Linked DNA regions of Homo sapiens: all the other regions are linked to region 1. Evidence: promoter capture Hi-C in 16 types of primary human blood cells and fetal thymus (Javierre and others, 2016). All regions are on one chromosome and are shown on one strand. The core of a region is centred on a gene start or on the middle of the fragment in contact, and the rest is flanking DNA. Distances in the headings are between cores, read along the strand shown. Region 1 holds the start of USP25 (ubiquitin specific peptidase 25). Region 2 has its middle 120 kb from the start of SAMSN1-AS1. Region 3 has its middle 92 kb from the start of SAMSN1-AS1.

Region 1 (3,558 bases), core at 789-3,288:
TGAAAATAAAAAAATCCTAAACTTACAAAGTTCTTCCCATTGTTCAAACTTAGGAAGTGAAAAATTGGTATTTCTCACTTTGAAACAGACTTTAATATTCAACACTGAAGACAATTATAAACAAATGGTACCATACATATTAAATATTGCTTAGCGTTCACATGACCATGTGCTCTTTCCTAAGCCTTAAGTCTTTAAAAATTGAACTTGAAGGTATTCAAAATAGAATAGGGAGGATTAGGAAGGAAACTCTTTTAAATTCTCATTATTAAATCTTGAATTATTTCACTGTAAATAAAGTGCAGTGTGCAATATCCTTCTAACTTTACCAATAATATCAACTAACATACAAGTCTCAAAAACAACTTTCCCAACGTGCCTAAAATAACAATGCACTATCCTTGCTTTCCAAACTTGAGTATCTTCGATTACTTTAAAGCAGTATCATAAAATTCTAAAAATAATCTCAAAGCAAAAATTTAGCAGGCTGTATGTAGACAGCCCATTTTAGAACAGGTCTTATTCTAAAGTCAAGCACAGGTAGAATATTGCAATCTACACCAAATCTACAACAGGGTGGGGCATTCATTACTCACCCAGATAAACCAAACATAACTCTGGTGGTTGATCACAGTAAACCCTAACTGTCCCCGTAATACCAACACAACTAAGGCACGGTTTACTCTTTTGCCCAAAATGCTTTTCACGCAAATTAAAAATTAAAAAAAGAAGTTAAATCATGGCCAACTACTCTTCAGAACATGGTGCAAGCCATGATAGTGCACTTAAGATTCTGAAAGCAAAATCTAAAATAGCAGAATGATCTCTATTCACTTTAAAGATATAAAGTTTCACAAACAGTTTTTTAATTGTTTTCTTTAGTGAGTGACCATTTGAATGTGTGACTGATGCAAGAGTAAAGGGTGAACGAAAGAACAAGGTCAAACTTAGGGGACAAAAGATTCCTGGAATAACATGGCCAGAAAGGTTTCCTCTCTTAGGGACAGTTTCTATATTGAAAAAAAAAAAAAAAAAAAAAAAAACAGAAAAGAAGAAGAAGAAAGGGAAACCTTAAAAGGAAAAGAAACCAAGCAAACCACCTACTTCTAGAGTCCACCTGGTCAACACGCCTGCCCCGCGAGGCAGGTAATTCGATTTTGGTGGAGACCGTTTTGCAAAATAGCAGGCCTGGTACACTACTACCTTTGAAAGACAAAATCGGTTCAGAAAGGATGACAACTAGCTATTCTTTCTCATTTAAGGGGAGAGAATAAAGTTTCATTAAGATGCCACACAGAGCACTGTAGGAATGTGAGGGTCGCTCTCAATACCTGGCACCGTCTGCTACGGGAAAACAATCGGCAGAAGGAAGTGGATTGAAGCCCGCAAACTACACTCTGCTTCCCACACGCAGCTGGGCTCTGGGCGCGACGCCCCCGAGGCGATGGGCAGGGGCCGGGGGTGACCGGGGAGGAAGCCCGGGAAGGCGGCGGCGGCGAGGCCGGGGCGCCCGGCCGCAGCGGGAGAGGACAGCCCGTCGGAAGGAGAAGTGGGGCCCGCCGGCTGGCGGACTCGCCTCACCTTCTGCGCCGCGCTCTGCTGCAGCACGTTCTGCTCCACGGTCATGGCCCCCGCGGCGGCGGCGGCGGCGGCGGCGGTGGCGCCCGGCTCCTCGCGCCTCCGCCGGCCCTGGCTGCCGCGCTCCGCCGAGCTCCAGGGAGCGGCGCGGACGGCCTGGGAGGACAGCGCCCCCGCCAGCCAGGCGCGAAGGCGATGGCGGCCGGCGTGCGCGGGCACCGCGGGCAGGCGGCGAAACGCCGACTGTGAGGGCCACGGCGGCCGCCTCACGTCTCCACGCGGCCCGCCTCAGCGCCGCTCGTCCGCGGCGGCCCGGGCCATGAGCGGGCGGAGGACGCCGGGGCACGGGAGAGCGCGAGCCAGTCGGGCGGCGTCACGCGTTCGCACGTTCCTTTGCTGCCGGTCCGCGGGCTGCTTTGGGGAAGGGAGAGAGGGGACGGAGGGAGCGGCCGCCCGGAATGGCGTTGTCCTCCTCCCTCCGCGAGTCCTCCTCCCTCCCCTCCCCCACGCGCCATCCCCGCCCCCGCCCGGCGGCTCCTCCCCCGCAGAGCCCCGCCCGCCGGCCGCCCTAACCCTACATTGTGACCCTCCGGGCGGCGGGGCGGGGCCGCCATGGAGCCCCGCCCCTCCCTGCGCGGGCCTGGCGTTCCCGGGTGGGGCGAGGGCGCGCCTGGCTGCCTGGCCCGGGAGCCGCCCCTGCGGCAGGTTGCGCGACGCTGGCGCTGGGCTTCGGGGAGCGCGACTGGAGGCCGGAGGGCAGCGTTCCTCCCTGCGCCCAGGGCTTGTCGGATCCCTAGCTTACCCAAAGCCTCCAAAGCAAACATTTCCCTCCATGCCCATAACGTCCCAAAACTGCGTAGGGTCCCGAACTCCGGCCCCTTTCTGTGTCACGCGTTCTCTCCCCTCGCCTTTCTAGGAATTTCACAAGCCTTGAACTTGCCTGAAGGGAAAAGTCAAATAAGCAAAGGGTTGCCAGAAATCTTTATGCTGGGAAGTACTTTTCTCCTTAACTAATCATTACGTAAATGAATATAGACATTTTCTATCTACCTTCATTCATTCGAATATGTGTCAGTCACTGCTAGGCTCTGGAAAAATAAAGTTTATCTTCCCAAGACTTAATATAAATGAAATAGGATCTATCTAGCAAACAACCTTACAAAAATATCACTGCCTAATGATACATAATTCTAATATCCCAGTTGCCAAATTAAGCAAACAATTAACTACCATGCATGGAATGCTTGACTATATATGGAATTGTAAGGAAAATCTAACATTAAGAAAGCAATCTCTAGCCACAAAAATATCTCGAGTTCCAGGAGCTAATCTGGGAACGGAGGTGAGAGTGCAGCAGTGTGAGGAGAGAAATTATCAATGCATATTGTCACAAATAGAATACACTTGAAAATCCGGGTATAATTTTTAATCCAATGACAAGGAAAGCAAGCTTGGCAAATGCTAATTGAAATAGTATGTGGTGTTATTTAATAATCATGGATTATAGTAGCTCTTAAGGCTTTGTAACAGTTCTGTGCACTTTACAACCATCTTTGTTCTGCAGCTCAGATGTCTGGTACCACCTGTTGTCACCTTTTCCTTGAAGCTTCATATTTGTTGACTCATTTGATATTTAACAAATTGCAAATCTTATTATATTAATATCCTATGTCTTTTCTAGAGGAAATGAAAAGTCATGAAACGGTTGGAAACAGAAATTTAGAAATACTGTCACATCTCTAATCTCACGTATCGATTTTTTTATAACTCTGAAGCCCAAGGAGGGTGACCTGTCAAAGAGAGCTTATCAAAACCCATTTTTCTTCATTTATAGATCAAAGTTTCTTCTTTTCTTGTTTATATGCTAACTTCATGTTTCTCCATATGAGGGTTTTGGTTTTTTGGTTTGTTTGTTTGTTTTTTAGAAATCAAGCTCATACATTTGAATTCAAGAAAATTAAATTTAACATAAAAATCTAG
Region 2 (3,154 bases), core at 615-3,114, 1.0 Mb after region 1:
AAAAATACAAAAAAAAACAAAAAACAAAAAAACTCTTATTCATTGTTTAAGGACAACAATTACTTTAGTTAGGTCAGTTTATTTAGTTATTTTATATTTTAAGTAGATTTAGAATATATGACCATGTACTTTTATCTGGCTTTGAAAATTAAGTCTGTGGCTCCGTTCCTGCTAAACAGCAGCTCCCTGAACTTGTTCCACAGGCAGACAGGCAGAGTATAAAAAGAGGATTAAAACTGCTTTCTGTATCCTCAACTTTATCAAGGATAGCACAGAAATCTCCATCATTCATATTGCCTAGAGAGTTCTAAAGCATTAACAATTTATCTAGCTTATGTATAATAAAAGCTGTGAAGTATATATTTTTAATGCCAATCACCAAGTCCAACCATAATGCAAAAAGTTGTAAGGCAAGTTTAATTGGTACAATTCCTGCTGAATGAATAAAATACAACGTGCTTGTAGAAAAGCTGGTGTCCAATAAACTTGACAATAAAAATCTCATCCAAAGGGGTTAAAAAAGGTATCTGGAGAAACAGGCCTCTTTGCAAGTAAGGTACTATCTTTGATATGTAAATATTGTCTTTTTTTTGAATTTGTCAAGATGAACAACATAAGGCATTGGCTTTTGCTAGAAAAAAGTTGTTAACAGTTACTTTAGACACACACACACACACACACACACACATATATATGTATACGTATGTATAAAAGACATTACTTGCAATATTCCTGGAGTTATTTCACCCTTCATTATCAATTGTTCAGAAGAACTGCTTAAGAGCTTAGTACAAACAGGGTCACAGTGCAAGTCCTAGGCAAGCTGTCAAGAAGGAAAATTTGCTCTCCAATAACCTACAATTCCTTCTCACCATATCCTCTCTTTGTGCTCTCTTTCTAGCCCTCAGTGTAAATCTTGTCAGGAAGATGTGTGGGGGGATCTGTATGTCTTCATTTACTATGAAAATCCAAAGGTTTTTTACAGGAAAGAAGAAGCTATTTTTGACATCATCCATATAATAAGCTCATTAACAGAAAGCATCTCCTAAACCAAATTAATATTTGACAAATTGACTACATTTTCTTTAGGGATCATTATGCTCATTGCATAATGATTATAATTTATGTTTTATGTATTATCAATAAATTAATATTGCTGGAAATATTATTTTTAAGGAAGTGTCTCCCAAAAGCCTAGTTAAAACTAGTTTTCAATGCAAACACAAAAAATAATGTAAAAATTAGAAATATATTATCATTATTCATAAAATACAGAAAACATATCAGATGAATAAAATTAGGCAAGATGAAACTCTCTTTCTCTCTCTCTCTTCCCATCTTCCTCCATTCTTTTTGAAATTCTTAAAGTTGAAAAAAGGACAAGATGAAAAAGAAGACAGTCAAATAAACATAAAACTAGTCAAAAGCAAGTTGAATATTAGATAAAATGGCCATTAAGGGAACTGACCAGTAGTAGAAATGGTCTTAAGTGACTGGACTTTAGATACAGTGTAGATTCAAAGAGTGTGGGCCATGATCCCCTTGCAACATTATGTGGTATGCAGATGCCTGAGCCCTGCCATAGACTTCTGAATCAGAGTCTCTGGAAGATGGGACTTTATCCTCATTTTAAACAAGTCCCCTGGAAATTCTAATATACATCATTGTTTGGAAACCTCTACATGCTCCTACTCTAGAACCAACGGGTCTTGTGTGTTTGACCTCTAGACAGTAACTAGGGCTAATTAATCTTCTTTTCCTTGCATTGTAGAAGTGTAAAGATGTCATGTTGCTTTGCAAAGCACCAGACAACAGTTCACCTTTTCTCAAAATGTCACTGAAACTGTTCAAGAGCTAGGAAGGCACAACTTAGTGTTTGCAGAAGGCTTCTCAGTTTCATGAATTTGATCACATTGTGGCATTCCTTAAATCTACCAAGTGTAAAATATCAAAAAAAACCCCACAAAATATGTTGGCAAACAAAACTAAGTTGATTTACTTACTAGAGTAACAGAGAACATTACTTTATTGAGGCTTAGTATGCTTCAAGAAGGCAAATGTCAGGAGAGGATATTTATATAGAGTTTGGATAGAATCTGGGCTTAAGTGGGTCTTAGGGTGTGTGGTTTAAGATGGAGAACTGATTATGCCTAGGAAATATTTGTGTCATAATATTTTCATGTTGGTGGACTCAAGACGGGAGAGTCTTAACGTGAATCCTGATAAGTAAACTGAAGTTGGATAAGTGATTTGTTTGCCCAGGTGAGCAATCTACTGTCCTGATAGGAGACCAAATATTTGCCCAGACAAGTTGGTTTGCAGGAATTTTCCTAAAGCAAATAGTGAAGTTATTTATTGATTTATAACCTTATATTCTTGAGCAAGAATTTCCAGGAACAAATATTTGTCATGTTAATGCAGGTGGCTTCAGTTCTTACTGACAATTGCTGGGCTCTGTGGACAAAGGTGGTGTCATTTCTCAAACCAAAGGAGACTCAAAGAGCCTTTTCCTAGGATCTCTTTATTCTAAATTCTTGTTGAATTTCACTCAACAAATATTTGTTAAATATACAATGAAAGATGGAAAATTCCAGGCACAGATACTGCTACTGTCCTCTACCCACTGCCCATGACAGACATTAATAATCAATCACAACATTCCTGCCCACTGGACCCTAACTTGGCCTCATGATCTTTTTCAGATCAGTAGCATTGAAGGCAACAGTTTCAGTGGATGAGAGTAGTTACTCAAATGGCCATAGAAGGAAGTGGGGACTGTAAAGGTGAATCAGGCCCACATTTTGTTCTTAAAGAGTTTGGAGTTAAGAAATCAAAGGGAGTACCCTGGCAACATTGCCATGTGTTTAATTAGAACAAAGCTAACATGAATGTGAGTAGCTGAAAGTAAGTCCAGATAGAGAGCTGCTGGCAGTTGTAACTGGCCTTTGATGTGAGACCAAAGCATGTGACACTTATGTGATAGGGAATGGGGAATGACTGACTCATGAAAAACTGAGAATAAAAGAATTGCAACTGTGCTTCAAGAACATTAATAATTTGAAGTACATAAGAGATTCGATAAATGTAGAGAACATGTAGGAGGCCATTGCAGGAATTTAGAAAAAAATATCCTGTAGGAACAGATTAGGGCACA
Region 3 (3,054 bases), core at 503-3,002, 1.1 Mb after region 1:
TTTACACGTACTGAAGCAACTACATGTCACTTTGTTTATATATATATGTATTTTTTGAGATACAGAAAAGTCCTCTAATTTGCCTGTAAGGCAGTTTTGAAAGTTGTTGCTTTAGGAACAGAGGAGTGTAAGGAATCCTACAGAGAAAGTCCTAAGTCATATCTTGGAGATAAAGAAACTGAGGCCAAGAGAAATGAACTGCCTGAAATCAAACCACTGGTTACTGGTAGTTGCAGGCTGACAACAAAATGACTGCAATTGTTCTTGGTGTCTGTGTTTACATCCATTGCAATGTGACTTTGAATCTGACCATGCACTGTGACTTTCTTTGACTGATTGATAGAATTTGGAGAAAATAAGGATGCCAGCTCAGCAGCATAATTATAATATAACTAATGCATAATTTATTTAATTTACCTTTTCTTAAATTCCCAGAATATTTTATAAAACTAGCAGTTCTCATAGGGATTTTTCTTTTCACAATTTTGGCTTCCAGCTATCTGGCAAATTTTCAAAAATTTGTTTTCTTTGCTTGTATATTGTATAATTTCTTCGTATCTTCTACCTCATAAATCCTCCTAAAATGTTCTTTCCTCTCCTTTTTGTTTTTGAGTTTTTAGGAACATCTTTGGCTGAGGTGGAATTTCTGACTATGTTATTGGGCACTACTTTGTGGTACCAAGTTTTAATCCACTTAACAGCTTCCAGCATATTTACTTTTTTTGGCAGGCAGGTGATGCTCTCAGCTATGTCCACACCAGCAGGCAAAATTGCAATAAGCAAGCAACTCTTGGAATGAATAAAAAAAATCCTTCACAAGGGGGAGGTCAACCTGTTTTTGATAAATTTCAGTTTGTTGTCACCCGAAGCTATGCACGTTAGCATAAGGCATTATCATATTTGCAGCCCAAATAGAATCCTGTATCTGACACCCTCTTTTTCTTTAGATGATTTGCTCGTTCTTATATGAAAGGCAGTAAAATGTAATAAAATGAGCACTGAACTTTATGGTAAGAGCCTGAATTCGAATTCTAGATTATCCACCACTGAACTTTATGATAAGAAGCCTGAATTCAAATTCCAGATTATCCACCCATTAACTGTGCCACTTTGGGGAAGTCACTCAACTTTATGGTAAGAAGCCTGAATTCAAATTCTAGGTTATCCACCCATTAACTGTGCCACTTTGTGGGGGTTACTCAACTTTTCTCAACCCCAGTTTTTTTATTAGTTATTTTAGAGAATAAGGTAAAATATTGTAAAGCATTTTGTAAGCTGCAGACTCCAGTATCTACTTTTCTTCTGAGCTCCATACATTTTCAATTGCCTGTTAAACATTGATGGCTAAATGTCCCATCCAAAATGCATTTCGATGTGCACTACTCAAGCTTTCATTTTCTTCCGAATTCTCTAATTCTATTAAATCATACTAATAATTTGCCAGTTACCCAGGTTGCAAATGTTTAAATATGGTTTTGTTGCCACTCTCTCATTTATCCCTTATAAGTTATTCTTTTATTTATTAATTTTTGCATCCAGAAAATGCCTATTAATCACCTGCTGCCTTTTCTGTTGCTGTACATCCTCCCTCTTTCAATCGCATCTCTGCATTTCAAAGCAGGCTCTGCTCCATTTTATCTCCCTGTTTCACACTCTGCTCCTCTGGCTTTGGCATCTATCTTATATCTCTCAGCCCAGACGTTGACCTGATTGTATCACTTCTTGCTTAGTCTGCTTTTCTGGCCCCAGTGCCTCTTGTCTCTGATAAGAAGCGCTCCTTTGTTCCTAGTCTGTGCCCTGTAGGACCCCCTCCTCCCCATCCCAATGGTCAGCTGGGCCTTCTGAGCCAATTTGTTAGCATCCCCATTTCCATGATGGCAGGAAAGGCTCAGATGCTACAAGTGACACTGAGGATGTTACCTAATTTTAATAAATATCATTTTCTCATTTTAAAAATGAGACGGATATACCTCACAGGGCTATCGTGAAATGAGAGAACACATGACTGGCACAGAGGAGGTACTCACAACCTAAGTGTTCTTCCCAAAGATCTAGCTATAGTTGCATAATACTAAACTCAGTACTCCACATCTGACCATTCAAAATAGAAGCTTAGAATCTAAGTAGGGAGATGAGAATAAAATGTTTAATAAATTTGTGTATAGAGATAGACTATGTAATGCAGTGCAGGTGGATGAGTACAAAGTACAAAAGTGAGTAGAAAAAAGTGACTCAAGAAAGACAGGCAGATATGATTTGTAAAGAAACTATTAGGTGTGAATTGGTGAAAATAAAGCAGGAGAATATTTTAGGCATGAGGAATTAGGAAAATTTTGAGAGCAAAACAAATTATGGCATTGTGGTATAAGTCTGGTAAAATGAAGAGGATGGGTTTGGGTTAAAGATCCTATTTGGAGAGGTAGAGTGGTGCTGATTATTGCAGACTTTCATTTTTGTCCTAGGAATAGAGAAATATATGTGAGCCAATGTTTTGAATATTATCAAAATTTTACAATAAAAGCAATGTGTTTTGTCACATTTTAAAGAGGCAATTAGAAATACAATGAATTTGTAAATCTGTTGATATTATATTAAACAAGTAGTCTCTAACCCCAGTTTCAAAATGCATTATTTTAAATGTGAAATAACATTTGTGAAGAAAAAAATTGACTGCATTTAGGCCATCATCCGTTCAATGGAGGTTTCCTGTGGTTTATTTATGAATATTAGTTGCTGTCCCTTTCTGTGTGAATTGGGCCAGAAAATCACAAATGCAAAAGTCTTTGGGATTGTCTAATTCAAGCACTGCACATTTTACAAGTGAGGAAACAGAAAGGGAAGTTAAATTCTTTCATGAGGTAATGTGTAGTCAGTGGCTAAATGAAACTCAAACTTTTCTTTAGATTTTTAATCTAATGCTTTAAAAATATATACTTAAGAACCTAAGATAGCCAAGATATTATTAAGGAAAAACAGCAGAGCTGTACCAGATAGGAGGACTTACTCTAAAGCTGTAGTAATTAAGAAAGTATAATATTTGCACAAAGACAAGTG

Evidence for each region. Contacts are between HindIII fragments. The CHiCAGO score rates a contact against its expected background, and 5 or more counts as called.
Region 2: a contact is called between a fragment that was not itself captured here and the fragment with the promoter of USP25 in region 1, in 1 of 17 cell types (neutrophils). The highest score is 6.2, in neutrophils.
Region 3: a contact is called between a fragment that was not itself captured here and the fragment with the promoter of USP25 in region 1, in 4 of 17 cell types (non-activated CD4 T cells, naive CD8 T cells, total CD8 T cells and 1 more). The highest score is 11.1, in non-activated CD4 T cells.

The regions. Positions count from the first base shown.
Region 1 is chr21:15,728,462-15,732,019 of GRCh38, reverse strand. USP25 (ubiquitin specific peptidase 25) reads right to left here and starts at 2,038. Exons shown (of 26, transcript NM_001283041.3): 1 at 1,582-2,038. The coding sequence starts at 1,626. RefSeq lists a silencer at 1,474-2,433. The HindIII fragment of the contact is 4,884 bases long and covers 1-3,030 here.
Region 2 is chr21:14,699,402-14,702,555 of GRCh38, reverse strand. No RefSeq gene overlaps it. Among named protein-coding and RNA genes, the nearest start is that of SAMSN1-AS1, 120 kb to the right of the region's middle. The HindIII fragment of the contact is 4,970 bases long and covers 1-3,154 here.
Region 3 is chr21:14,672,471-14,675,524 of GRCh38, reverse strand. No RefSeq gene overlaps it. Among named protein-coding and RNA genes, the nearest start is that of SAMSN1-AS1, 92 kb to the right of the region's middle. The HindIII fragment of the contact is 723 bases long and covers 1,391-2,113 here.